Regions from separate parts of the Homo sapiens genome. Here region 2 is linked to region 1. The links are contacts of gene promoters, found by promoter capture Hi-C in human tissues and cell types (Jung and others, 2019). All regions are on one chromosome and are shown on one strand. The core of a region is centred on a gene start or on the middle of the fragment in contact, and the rest is flanking DNA. Distances in the headings are between cores, read along the strand shown. Region 1 holds the start of ZDHHC22 (zDHHC palmitoyltransferase 22). Region 2 has its middle 3.8 kb from the start of TMEM63C.

Region 1 (4,879 bases), core at 1,629-4,128:
TATAGGAATCTACAGCAAGAGCAATGGAGAGTGTGGTTTATAAATCATTTCTGTCACTGTTTATGGAGGATGAGATTAGAGTCAGGGTGGGTGGTGGCAGGTTGCAAGATCAATGGCAAATGTGTCCTCAGCAGATATTTCTCTTTGAGACAGAGTCTTGATCTGTCACCCAGGCTGGAGTGCAATGGCATGGTCTTGGGTCACAGCAACCTCTGCCTCCTGGGTTCAAGCGATTCTCCTGTCTCAGCCTCTTGAGTAGCTGGGATTACAGGCACTGGCCACCACGCCTGGCTAATTTTTATATTTTTAGTAGGGACGGGGTTTCCCCATGTTGGCCAGGATGGTTTCGGACTCCTGACCTCAGGTGATCTGCCTGCCTCAGCCTCCCAAAGTGCTGGGATTACAGGTGTGAGCCAATGCATCTGGCCCTCACCAGACATTTCAAAGACCTCAGAATATAGCTCTTCCTTTCACAGACAGACCAGTAGCAATTCATCGATCAAGAGACTTTTACTCAGTGTCAACTCTGGGCAAATCATCCTATTAGGAAATATGGAAGAAACCCCAAAACATTTCCAACATAGGCAAGGAGCTCTCATTTTAGTTGGAAAGTGAAGAGAGTCCTGTGGTTGAAAAGAGGAGCCCTAAAGATGTGGGAGACGCTAAGGTGCTTAAATTACATGATCCCATTTGATCATCATCACCACAAATAACAGCAGCATTCTTATTCCCATTTTACCGATGAGAATACTGAGAGCAGAGAGGTTAAATGACTAGCAGCTCATGGTCACACAGCTGGTAAATGGCAATAAAATGCTCATTCTTAGTCTGCTTGACTCTCATAGGGCCAGAATCCAAGTGAAGTTTTCATATTGATTTTGCCTCCCTATTGATTTTGTCAGGGATAAGCATAAGTTTTAGAAAAACAAAATGACATTTGCCGTGCTTCCCTTCACTCCATTCCTTAAGGGGAGCTGAGGAACCACTAGCTTTAGATCTGAAGCTGTAATGTCCTTTTCTGTTGATAAACGATATTTCTAAATAAATAATCGTCCTTGTCCATTTGTGTTTCCACGACCAGATCTCCTTTTCCTGACTGAATACTCCCTTCCCCCACTAACATCTTCCCACGTTCGCTTAGCTTCTTTCTCTCTTTCCCTTTCCTCATACACACAGATTCAGACACACACCTTCCCACCTCACACCCATATGCAAAATAAAATTAGAAATACCACCCGACTCACAAGGTATTTGGGGAATGGAGATCTTCAGTCAGTATACCCAAACCCAAGCACCCCAGCCAGCCTCCCTCCCTGCCAAGCCCATGTGAGAGGCAGACAGAGCTTGTGAAAAGGGGCCCAGACGGCCACGATTATGAGACAAAGCTGCTCTGAAGGGAAAAGGGCCATGTGTGCCTCCCCATGTCTGTCCTGTGGCCACTGGAACTCACAAGGCTACCAGCTGCTCACGGCCACCATGTGGCATATACTGTTCTTTCACTTACATGTCAGATCCTTTTAGAATGTGAAAAGGTTTCCTGGCCTCTTTTTTATTTTGATGTATGCTGATAAATTACAGAGGAAACAGTGTGTGGTTATTCAAGAATAGAGGCTGAGCTGATCAGCATATGGCCCTCATTTCAAGGGATTGCTCTTGTTTTAATCAGCCAGTTGAGAAAGCAATAAATGTTTATTTATTAAGTATGCCATCACCGAGAGGAGAGGAACAGGGCAGGTAGGTGAGCTGCGACACCCAGGAAATTGAGGATGGTGATGGCACCAATATTCCTGCAGTGTTTGATGTTTTTAAGGCTCTGCTCCCCCCACCCCCCACTGTTTGATACACATTGGTGTCACTACCCTCTTGGCGCATCACAGTACCCACCTTAGAATAGCGGAGCCCTGGAAGGGGAAGGAAATAGAAATAAGAAGGTGGGGGTGAGGCTCAAAGAAGAAGCTCCAAGTTCAAGCTCTGTGTCTGGATAAACTCCCATTGTCTTTCCTTCTCTCAAATCAGAGCTGCCCGTGGGTCCCAGGGTGATGCTGGGCTGTGTAGAGGCTGAGTGCAGGAGCATTAATGCTAGAACCAGGTTCAAGTCCAGGCTCTGTCACTTAATGGCTGTATGACCTTAGACATGAGACTTAGCTTCTCTGAGCTTCAACCTCCTCATCTCCAGAATGGGGCTCAGCCAGCTTCACAGATCAGGCTGAGAGGATTAAGGAAGCATCTTATGCTAAAGGCTTAGCACAATGCCTGCTACCTAGTAGGGGCCCGATAAGTAGTGTCTAATTATGATCTAATCAAGCAGTGCTTGCCCTGGGCAGGCCCTGTTTAAGGGTTTTACATAGATTGTCATTTAACCCTCATATCTCTATTTCACAGATGAGGAAACTGGAATCTAAGATCACACTGGAATTTACAGACGAAGAAACTGGAATCTGAGATCTCACAGTAGTGAATGGTGAATATTCAAACCCAGGTAGACAGGCTCCAGAGTCCCAACTCCCAACCCTCTGTACACAGCCCTTCCGAGGAGATGACGCTGATCTTCATGGGTGTTGCCCTGGCAAGCTGACCTCTCAAGCCCCCAGGGTTCCTTCAGTCCGAGTGGAGAGCAGGGAAGGTCGTGGGACCTAGCCGAGAGGGAAGGGCAGGATGATGGCTGGAGAATCCACATCAGGGCTGAATCCCAATCTCCCAGCTGGAACGGGCGCTGAAACCAGGCAGGGCGCCCCAGCCCGCTCAAGGGGAATCGAGAGGGGAGGAGGGGGCAAGTCCACGATGCTGAGACTGGCGGCCAGAGCACCGCCCCCAGGAGCGGAGGGAGGGGTGGCGGGGCTGGGGGGTGCCCAGCTGCCATCCCCGCCGCTTCCTGGCCCTTACTCGCTGGCGCCCAAGTGGGAAGCCAGCAGCTGCCCGCTCCCTCCTCCCCACATCCCCGCTACTTGCCCAGTTCCCGAAGCGAAGCGCAGGCTGCGAGCCAGCCGGGCCGAGTCCACAACTTTGCAGCCTCGGGCAGGGCGAGAGCCGGCGTCCGGGGCTCCTCTTGTCGGCGACCAGAGCTCGGTGAGTTGATTTCCTCACCCCTCTGCGACGGCGGCAGTGCGGCGGCGGCGGCGCGGGGGGCGGCTTCCCGTGCGTCCGGGAGGCAGTGGCCGAGAAGCCCGCGGCTGCCGGCGCTGCCGGTCTTTCCAAGGCTCCGGCTGTGCCGCCCTCTGCCGCGGGCGAGGCGGGCGCCAGGGCTGAACGGACAGCTCCCTACACCCCGGGGCCCCACGGGCGGTCTCTGCTGTCCCTTCTCCCGCGCAGGGCCAGGGCTGAGGCTGCCTGCCGAGCGCCCCTCACTCCCCTAGCCCCTGTCCTTCGCCGCCTTCCCAGCGCTGCGGCGCATCTGGCTGCTCCCGCGCCCCCCTGGCGACCGGCGCCGGGAAGGCACTTGCTTCGCCGGAGCCCCAGGCCGAGGGCTCTCTGGGGTGGGCAGCACCGCCGCAGCCCCCGGCGGCGCAGGACTGGGGGCGTGCCCAGCCCCCGGCGACCACCCTCAGGCGTGCACTGCGCTGCGCCCCAGCGGTAGGGAGAGGCCCACGCTCTCCGCGGAGGCTGCGGGTTCCCGGGGGGCGCTGGGACCTGCAAAGGGGATTCCAAGGTGACCAGTCGACCCGTGCGGACGGGACAGCCTGGACGGAGGCCCCGTGGCATCCACCCATCCTAGGTGCAACCGCCTTCCCAGAACTTTTCTCGCGCCTCCGGCTGGCCGATTCCTTAGCCCCTGGAAAAGTTCTCTCGGGCGCACGGAATCCTATTTCTCGGTGGCTTCCGAAGCTGGCCAGGAACCCCGGCTGTGAGGCGTGGGGTGGGATGGGGACGTGGTGAGGGCTGAGCACGGCGGCGGGGTCGATCCCAGGAAAGGCTGGCCAAGCATCCACTCGTGCGCCCAGGGCGGGCTTGTCGGCATGGAAAGGATTTCGGCGCCATGAGGGTTGTTTGGGTTTCTCTCAGCAGGAGGGCGGGAGGCGGGCGCGAAGGGGGGATTTTAATTTCGCCTCAAATGAAAACGCTCTTCGCAAAGAAATAGCCCGGGCAGCCAGCGTTGGAGAGATGTGCTGGCCAGGACCCGCTGACACAGGTATTCTGGTTGCGCCCCCACCTCACCCGGTGCCCGAGAGCGAGTGTGAGTGTATCGATTGTTTCAATTGATTTTTTTAAAGCTAGATAGCAGAGGCTGCGTGTCTGTACACGCAGATATATACATACACAAATACAGATACTCAAGCGCACACAGATTACACGTACAGAGTCACAGACAAGGACACACACACACACATCGTGGTCCCTCACGCACACATACCTCCAAAGAGCCTTGGGTAACCTGGTGAGGTCCCTGAGTGCTGCCCAAGATGTGTGTGTGGGTGGGGACGCAGGGACGGAGAAAGGGGAGTGTGAAGCAGGATTTCCAGCAGGTCAAGTGCCGCTGATTCTCCTGCCCCCGACCCCAAATCCTTCCCTTTCTCCTCCTAGGGAGGTCTGAACCAGAAATCCCAAACCTGGGCTTGTTTCCACATCCACAGAGGGGAGGAGTCCTATCCCCCGGTGCCCCCCACCCTCACAACTCCTAAAGACTGCAAACGAGTCCCTCCCTCCTGTGCCAGACTCTGCCGCGCCAAGGCGCCGAGCTCGCTCAAAACCCCAGGCAACACTCACCCCCAGGTGGGGCCTAGACCCGAGGCCGCTGCGGGCTCGGGTCTCTGGCCTGCCTGATCCGGGGTTAGGGAACTGGGGAGGGGAAATCCGCGGGACAGGGGGTTGGGGGCGTGGAGTCGCGTGCAGTGCCCCAGACGCGCGGCACGGAGGAGCGGGCGAGGGCGCCCCCTGGACGCCG
Region 2 (5,044 bases), core at 126-2,625, 37 kb before region 1:
CTCCCGCCACCACGCCCGGATAATTTTTTTTTTTTGTATTTTTTAGTAGAGACGGGGTTTCACCGCGTTAGCCAGAATTGTCTCGATCTCCTGACCTCGTGATTCGCCCGCCTCAGCCTCCCAAAGTGCTGGGATTACAGGCGTGAGCCACCGCGCCGGCCCACTCATTATCTTTTTCATTCACGGGACGGGAAGACTTTTGAACACGTATTCTGCAGTGGCAACAGGGCATCAGGGTCTAGGTTCCAGCCCTTGCTTAGCGGCTATCATGCTGTGCAACCTTGGGTAGCTCACTTGATCTCTCTTTGTTTTTCCCTCTCATCTGTAATTCTGAGAGGGCTGGGCTAGTTGAGGTCTCACACCCCTCTGCTCTGACACCTTTATTCTCTTCTAGGATAAAGGCTGGCGGGTACAAAGACAAATCAGATCAATACAAGAATAGTGCTGGGAACGCTAGCTGCCTGCATTTCAGTCCCAGCTGGGCCACCTAAATGTGGGACTTAACCTCTCTGTGCTTTTTTTTTTTTTTGGCATATGGAAAATGGGGGAAAACAATAATCATAAGCTTAAAGGGTGATTGTGAGGATTAAATGAAATACCATGTACAAAATAAATGCTCTGCAAATATTCATTGTTGTTGCTGTAGTTATGCTATTCACAGTCTGGTGGGACAGCATAAATTCTCAACAAAAGCAGTTCGTCTTTTCCTTCTCTGCTTCATCATCACAGAAGCTGTTGTAAGCCCATATCCAACCCACTCCACCTCCTAGAGGAGAAACCTGATAAGCATCAAGGTCATGCCGTAAAGAGAGGCCAGGTGTGGTGGCTCACGCCTATAATCCTAACAGTTTGGGAGGCTGAGGCGGGCAGATGACTTGAGGTTGGGAGTTCGAGACCAGCCTGGCCAATGTGATGAAACCCAGTCTCAACCAAAAATACAAAAATTAGTCGGGGGTGGTGGCGGGCACCTGCAATCCCAGCTACTTGGGAGGCTGAGGCAGGAGAATCACTTGAACCCAGGAGACGGAGGTTGCAGTGAGCTGAGATCATACCACTGCACTCCAGCTGGGCGACAGAGTGAGACTCCGTCTTGAAAAAAAAAGAAAGATACAGTAAAGGGGGACGGAAGCCAGGTGTGGTAGCTCACACCTGTAATCCCAGCTACCTGGGAGGCTGAGGCAGGAGGACTTCTTGAGGCCAGGAGGTTGAGACAAGCCTGGGCAATATAGAGAGACCTACATCGGAGAGGAGAGGAGGGGAGGGGAGGGCAGGAGAGGGAAGGGGAGGGGAGGGGAGGGGAAGAGAGGAGAGGAGAAAGAAAGAAAAAGAAAGAAAGAAAGAAAGAAAGAAAGAAAGAAAGAAAGAAAGAAAGAAAGAAAGAAAGAAAGAAAAAGAAAGAAAGGAAGGAAGGAAGGAAGGAAAGAAGGAAGGAAGGGGAAGGGAAGGAAGGGAGGGAGGGAGGGAGGGAAGGGAAGGAAGGGAGGAGAACCCATGGAAGGAGGAGAACCCATGGAGATGCCAGGTGGGCTGTGTGGTGGGGAAAGAGATGACCCCAATGTCCCAACCAACCACCTAGATGAGTGTCAGCTTGTAGAAGGTTCTCAGTAAAGGTGTATGGGTATGAATAACTGAGGCTTTCAAAAGAAAGGCCCTTCTGGTCTGTGACACTGAAAACACTTATCATGCTCTCACTTGTGGATTGGGGTGGGAGTGCCTTTGGCCTGAGTTGTCAAATCTGAAAGATTATGCCTGTTATTGTCTTCATGACCGCGTTGTTAACCTCCAATGTCTGGTCTGGGAACATAATCCAGAACAATATAAAAGAAACAAAAGGACTCTGAGTAACCCTTACAGTGAGCTGAGATGGCACCACTGCACTCCAGCCTGGGCGACAGAGCGAGACTCCGTCTCAAAAGAAAAAAAAAATAGACAGAGAGAGAGGTACAGAAAAGGGGGATGGAAGCCAAGTGTGGTGGCTCACACCTGTAATCCCAGCTACTTGGGAGGCTGAGGCAGGAGGATTTCTCGAGGCCAGGAGGTTGAGACCAGCCTGGGCAATATAGAGAGATCTACATCAGAAAGGAGAGGAGAGGAGGGGAGGGGAGGGCAGGGGAGGGAAGAGGAGGGGAGGGGAAGGAAGAGGAGGGGAGGGAAGAGGAGGGGAGGGAAGAGGAGGGGAGGGAAGAGGAGGGGAGGGGAGGTGAGGGAAGAGGAGGGGAGGGGAGGGGCTTTTTCTGCAGATCACCTTGTGTCTTCAATTGGTGCCCACCTTTATTTACTCCACACAAAATTTCAATAGATCCAGTGTGGCAGAGACTGCTAAGAGCCCCTTTTCTTTCCCTCTTCCTTTTTGCAGTAGAGCTCCCAAGATTAAAACCTGGATTTATGGCTCTCCTACTATAGACCACATATCCCAGAACCCCTCGAAGCCAGGTGGAAGTATGAACTAAGTCCTAGCCAGTGAGATATGAGTGGAAGTAATAGGTTTAATTTCTGGGCCACATACTTAAAAGGAAGCTGGCTGTTCTCTACTTCCTCTTTCCTCTTTGTGAAGACTGGGATGTGGACATGGGGTGGAGGGGAGGGCAGCTTTGATGATGCTGACCAGGACAACTCCCTAGAGACAGTCAAGCATCAAGGCAGGAAGAACTTGAGTCACAAGATGACCTGGAGAAGTGCCCTACAATGTTGACCACCTTGCATTTTTCTCACGGGAGAGCAATAACCTTGTAAAGTCACTATTGTCTGGTCTCTGTTGCAGCAGCTGAACCAATAGCCTAAAGGAGAAGCCACTTTCCTGATTTTCAAAACCACAGCAGATGAGCAGGAGCATGTTAGAAGGGGAAAGGACTAATAAGAAAGCAAGCACAGTGAAAAGGGCAAAAGTCAAGAGCAAGAGAAGAGAGAACAACGATTAAAAAAAAAAAAAAAAAAAAAAAGGCCGGGCGCAGTGACTCACGCCTATAATCCCAGCATTTTGGGAGACCGGGGCGGGTGGATCACGAGGTCAGGAGATCGAGACCCTCCTGGCTAACATGGTGAAACCCTGTCTCTGCTAAAAATACAAAAAATTACCCAGGTGTGGTGGCGGGCGCCTGTAATCCCAACTACTCAGGAGGGGCTTTTCCCCTTTTGCTCAGCACTTCTCTTCCTGCTGTCATGTGAAGAAAGATGGGTTTGCTTCCCCTTCCATCGTGATTGTAAGTTTCCTGAAGCCTCCCCAGCCATGTGGAACTGAGTCAATTAAACCTCTTTTCTTTATAAATTATCGAGTCTCAGGTATGTCTTTATCAGCAGCATGAGGACGGACTAACACACCACCTAATCTACCAAACATCATAGCTTAACCTACCTTAAATGTGCTCAGAATACTGACATTAGCCTATAGTTGGGCAAAATCACCTAACACAAAGCCTATTGTATAATAAAATGTTGCATATTTCAACACTTTATTATAAAATGGGCTTTGTGTTAGAGGATTTTATTTATTGAATACTGAAAATGAAAAAGAGTGGTTGTATGGATACTTGAAGTATGATTTCTGCTGAATACATATGGCTTTTGCACCATTTTAAAGTCAAAAAATTGTAAGTAGAGTCGTTGTAAGTTGGACTGCCTGTATTGATTGATCAGTGAAATTGTCTGAGATCTTAAACCAGCCCAGTGAACAACTGCAGGGACCCAACCCTCATAGTTTTGTTGAGCCTATGGTGGCCCTGGGAACTTGTCTCTGCTATTTAGAAATAATTTCCATCATAAACACTCAAGCTCACAAAGACCTACACACACAAGAATGCTCATTGCAGAATTGTTTGCAATTGCAAAAACAACAGTAACAATTAAAAAAACCTCACAACTGTGCACAGCCTACGCAAATGTACATGGGTTTTCTGTGGTACCCAGGTGAGATGTTCAGGAAAAATCAAAATGAGAGAGAAAAGGCAGGAAGTGAAAGCCACACACCAGTGTCCCTATGACCCCAAGGCCTGGTGCTGGGTGAGGCTGCTAGGCAGAGGGTAAGCAGGGGGCCATGGGGTTGGAGATGATGGGAGTCAGACCACAGATTTTACTACAAGACCCAGAATATAAACATATGCCACTGACAGGGACAGTATTTTCAAGGCAAAGCCAAGACACTATTTATACTTTAAGTGGCAAGCCACATACTCTAGGGTATCCCTGATCCCAAGAGCCAAATAAAAACTCTCTAAGAAAGTGGATACATTTTGGGAGCTCAGCTCCTATCACATGCTCTAATCTGCCTTTCCAGACAGAAGTGAATTTGTTTTCCTGTGCAGAAAGTAGTGGGGAAATGTATTGGAATGGAAAACCATTTTTCCAGTGTCTTCTGCCTGACCAGACACAGGGTTGTGGATTTCTAGAGAGAGGAAGACTTCAGGCTTAGGTCTAGACACACAGCACTGTCTCTACTTGGAAGCTGGCATTCCCCAGTGGAGGAGTCAGGCCCTATGATCACTCAGCCCTGCCACAGAAGAGAATCCAGGCTTCCCTTCTTCTGGGGCAACCCTGGCCCCTCTGCCCTCTCTTACCCCTGGCCTCAGACTGGGCCCCACTCACCAAGACCCCACCGGTGGGTATTCTTAGCCAGCAGCAATCTCTTTTACTAGTACTAGTGGAAGACGAGAAATTCACAGCTGGTAGGAGGTCATTGTTATCCACCGCCACTATCACTGAATGATATTGGAAACTTCTGGGCGGGTGAGGTCAGAAGCAGGTGTTGATGACATCACAAAAGAAACACCACTGTGTTGTGCTGGAACTCTGGGATTCTGGTACCATTTCTTCACCTAGGATTGAGCGCAACTGAGCATTTTCAGACAGATCTGGGGATTGAAGCCTGCAGAGCCTCACCTCAGTTCTATCTTGAGCCTGGCTGATGCCCTGCAGAATTAGATCCTTAAAGAATAAATGGGTTGGCCAGGTGTGGTGGCTCACGCCTGTAATCCCAGCACTTTGGGAAGCCGAGGCAGGTGAATCACGAGGTCAGGAGTTCGAGGCCAGCCTGGCCAAGATGGCAAAACCC

What was found. The method cuts DNA at HindIII sites, captures the fragments that hold promoters and counts their contacts. A contact is called where the count stands out against the background at its distance.
Region 2: a contact is called between a fragment that was not itself captured here and the fragment with the promoter of ZDHHC22 in region 1, in 1 of the 25 tissues and cell types used here (dorsolateral prefrontal cortex).

Annotation. Positions count from the first base shown.
Region 1 is chr14:77,139,790-77,144,668 of GRCh38, reverse strand. ZDHHC22 (zDHHC palmitoyltransferase 22) reads left to right here and starts at 2,878. Exons shown (of 3, transcript NM_174976.2): 1 at 2,878-3,066. RefSeq lists enhancers at 2,764-3,265, 3,360-3,923, 3,924-4,487, 4,625-4,879. The HindIII fragment of the contact is 26,670 bases long and covers 1-4,879 here.
Region 2 is chr14:77,175,509-77,180,552 of GRCh38, reverse strand. No RefSeq gene overlaps it. Among named protein-coding and RNA genes, the nearest start is that of TMEM63C, 3.8 kb to the left of the region's middle. The HindIII fragment of the contact is 3,287 bases long and covers 1-3,018 here.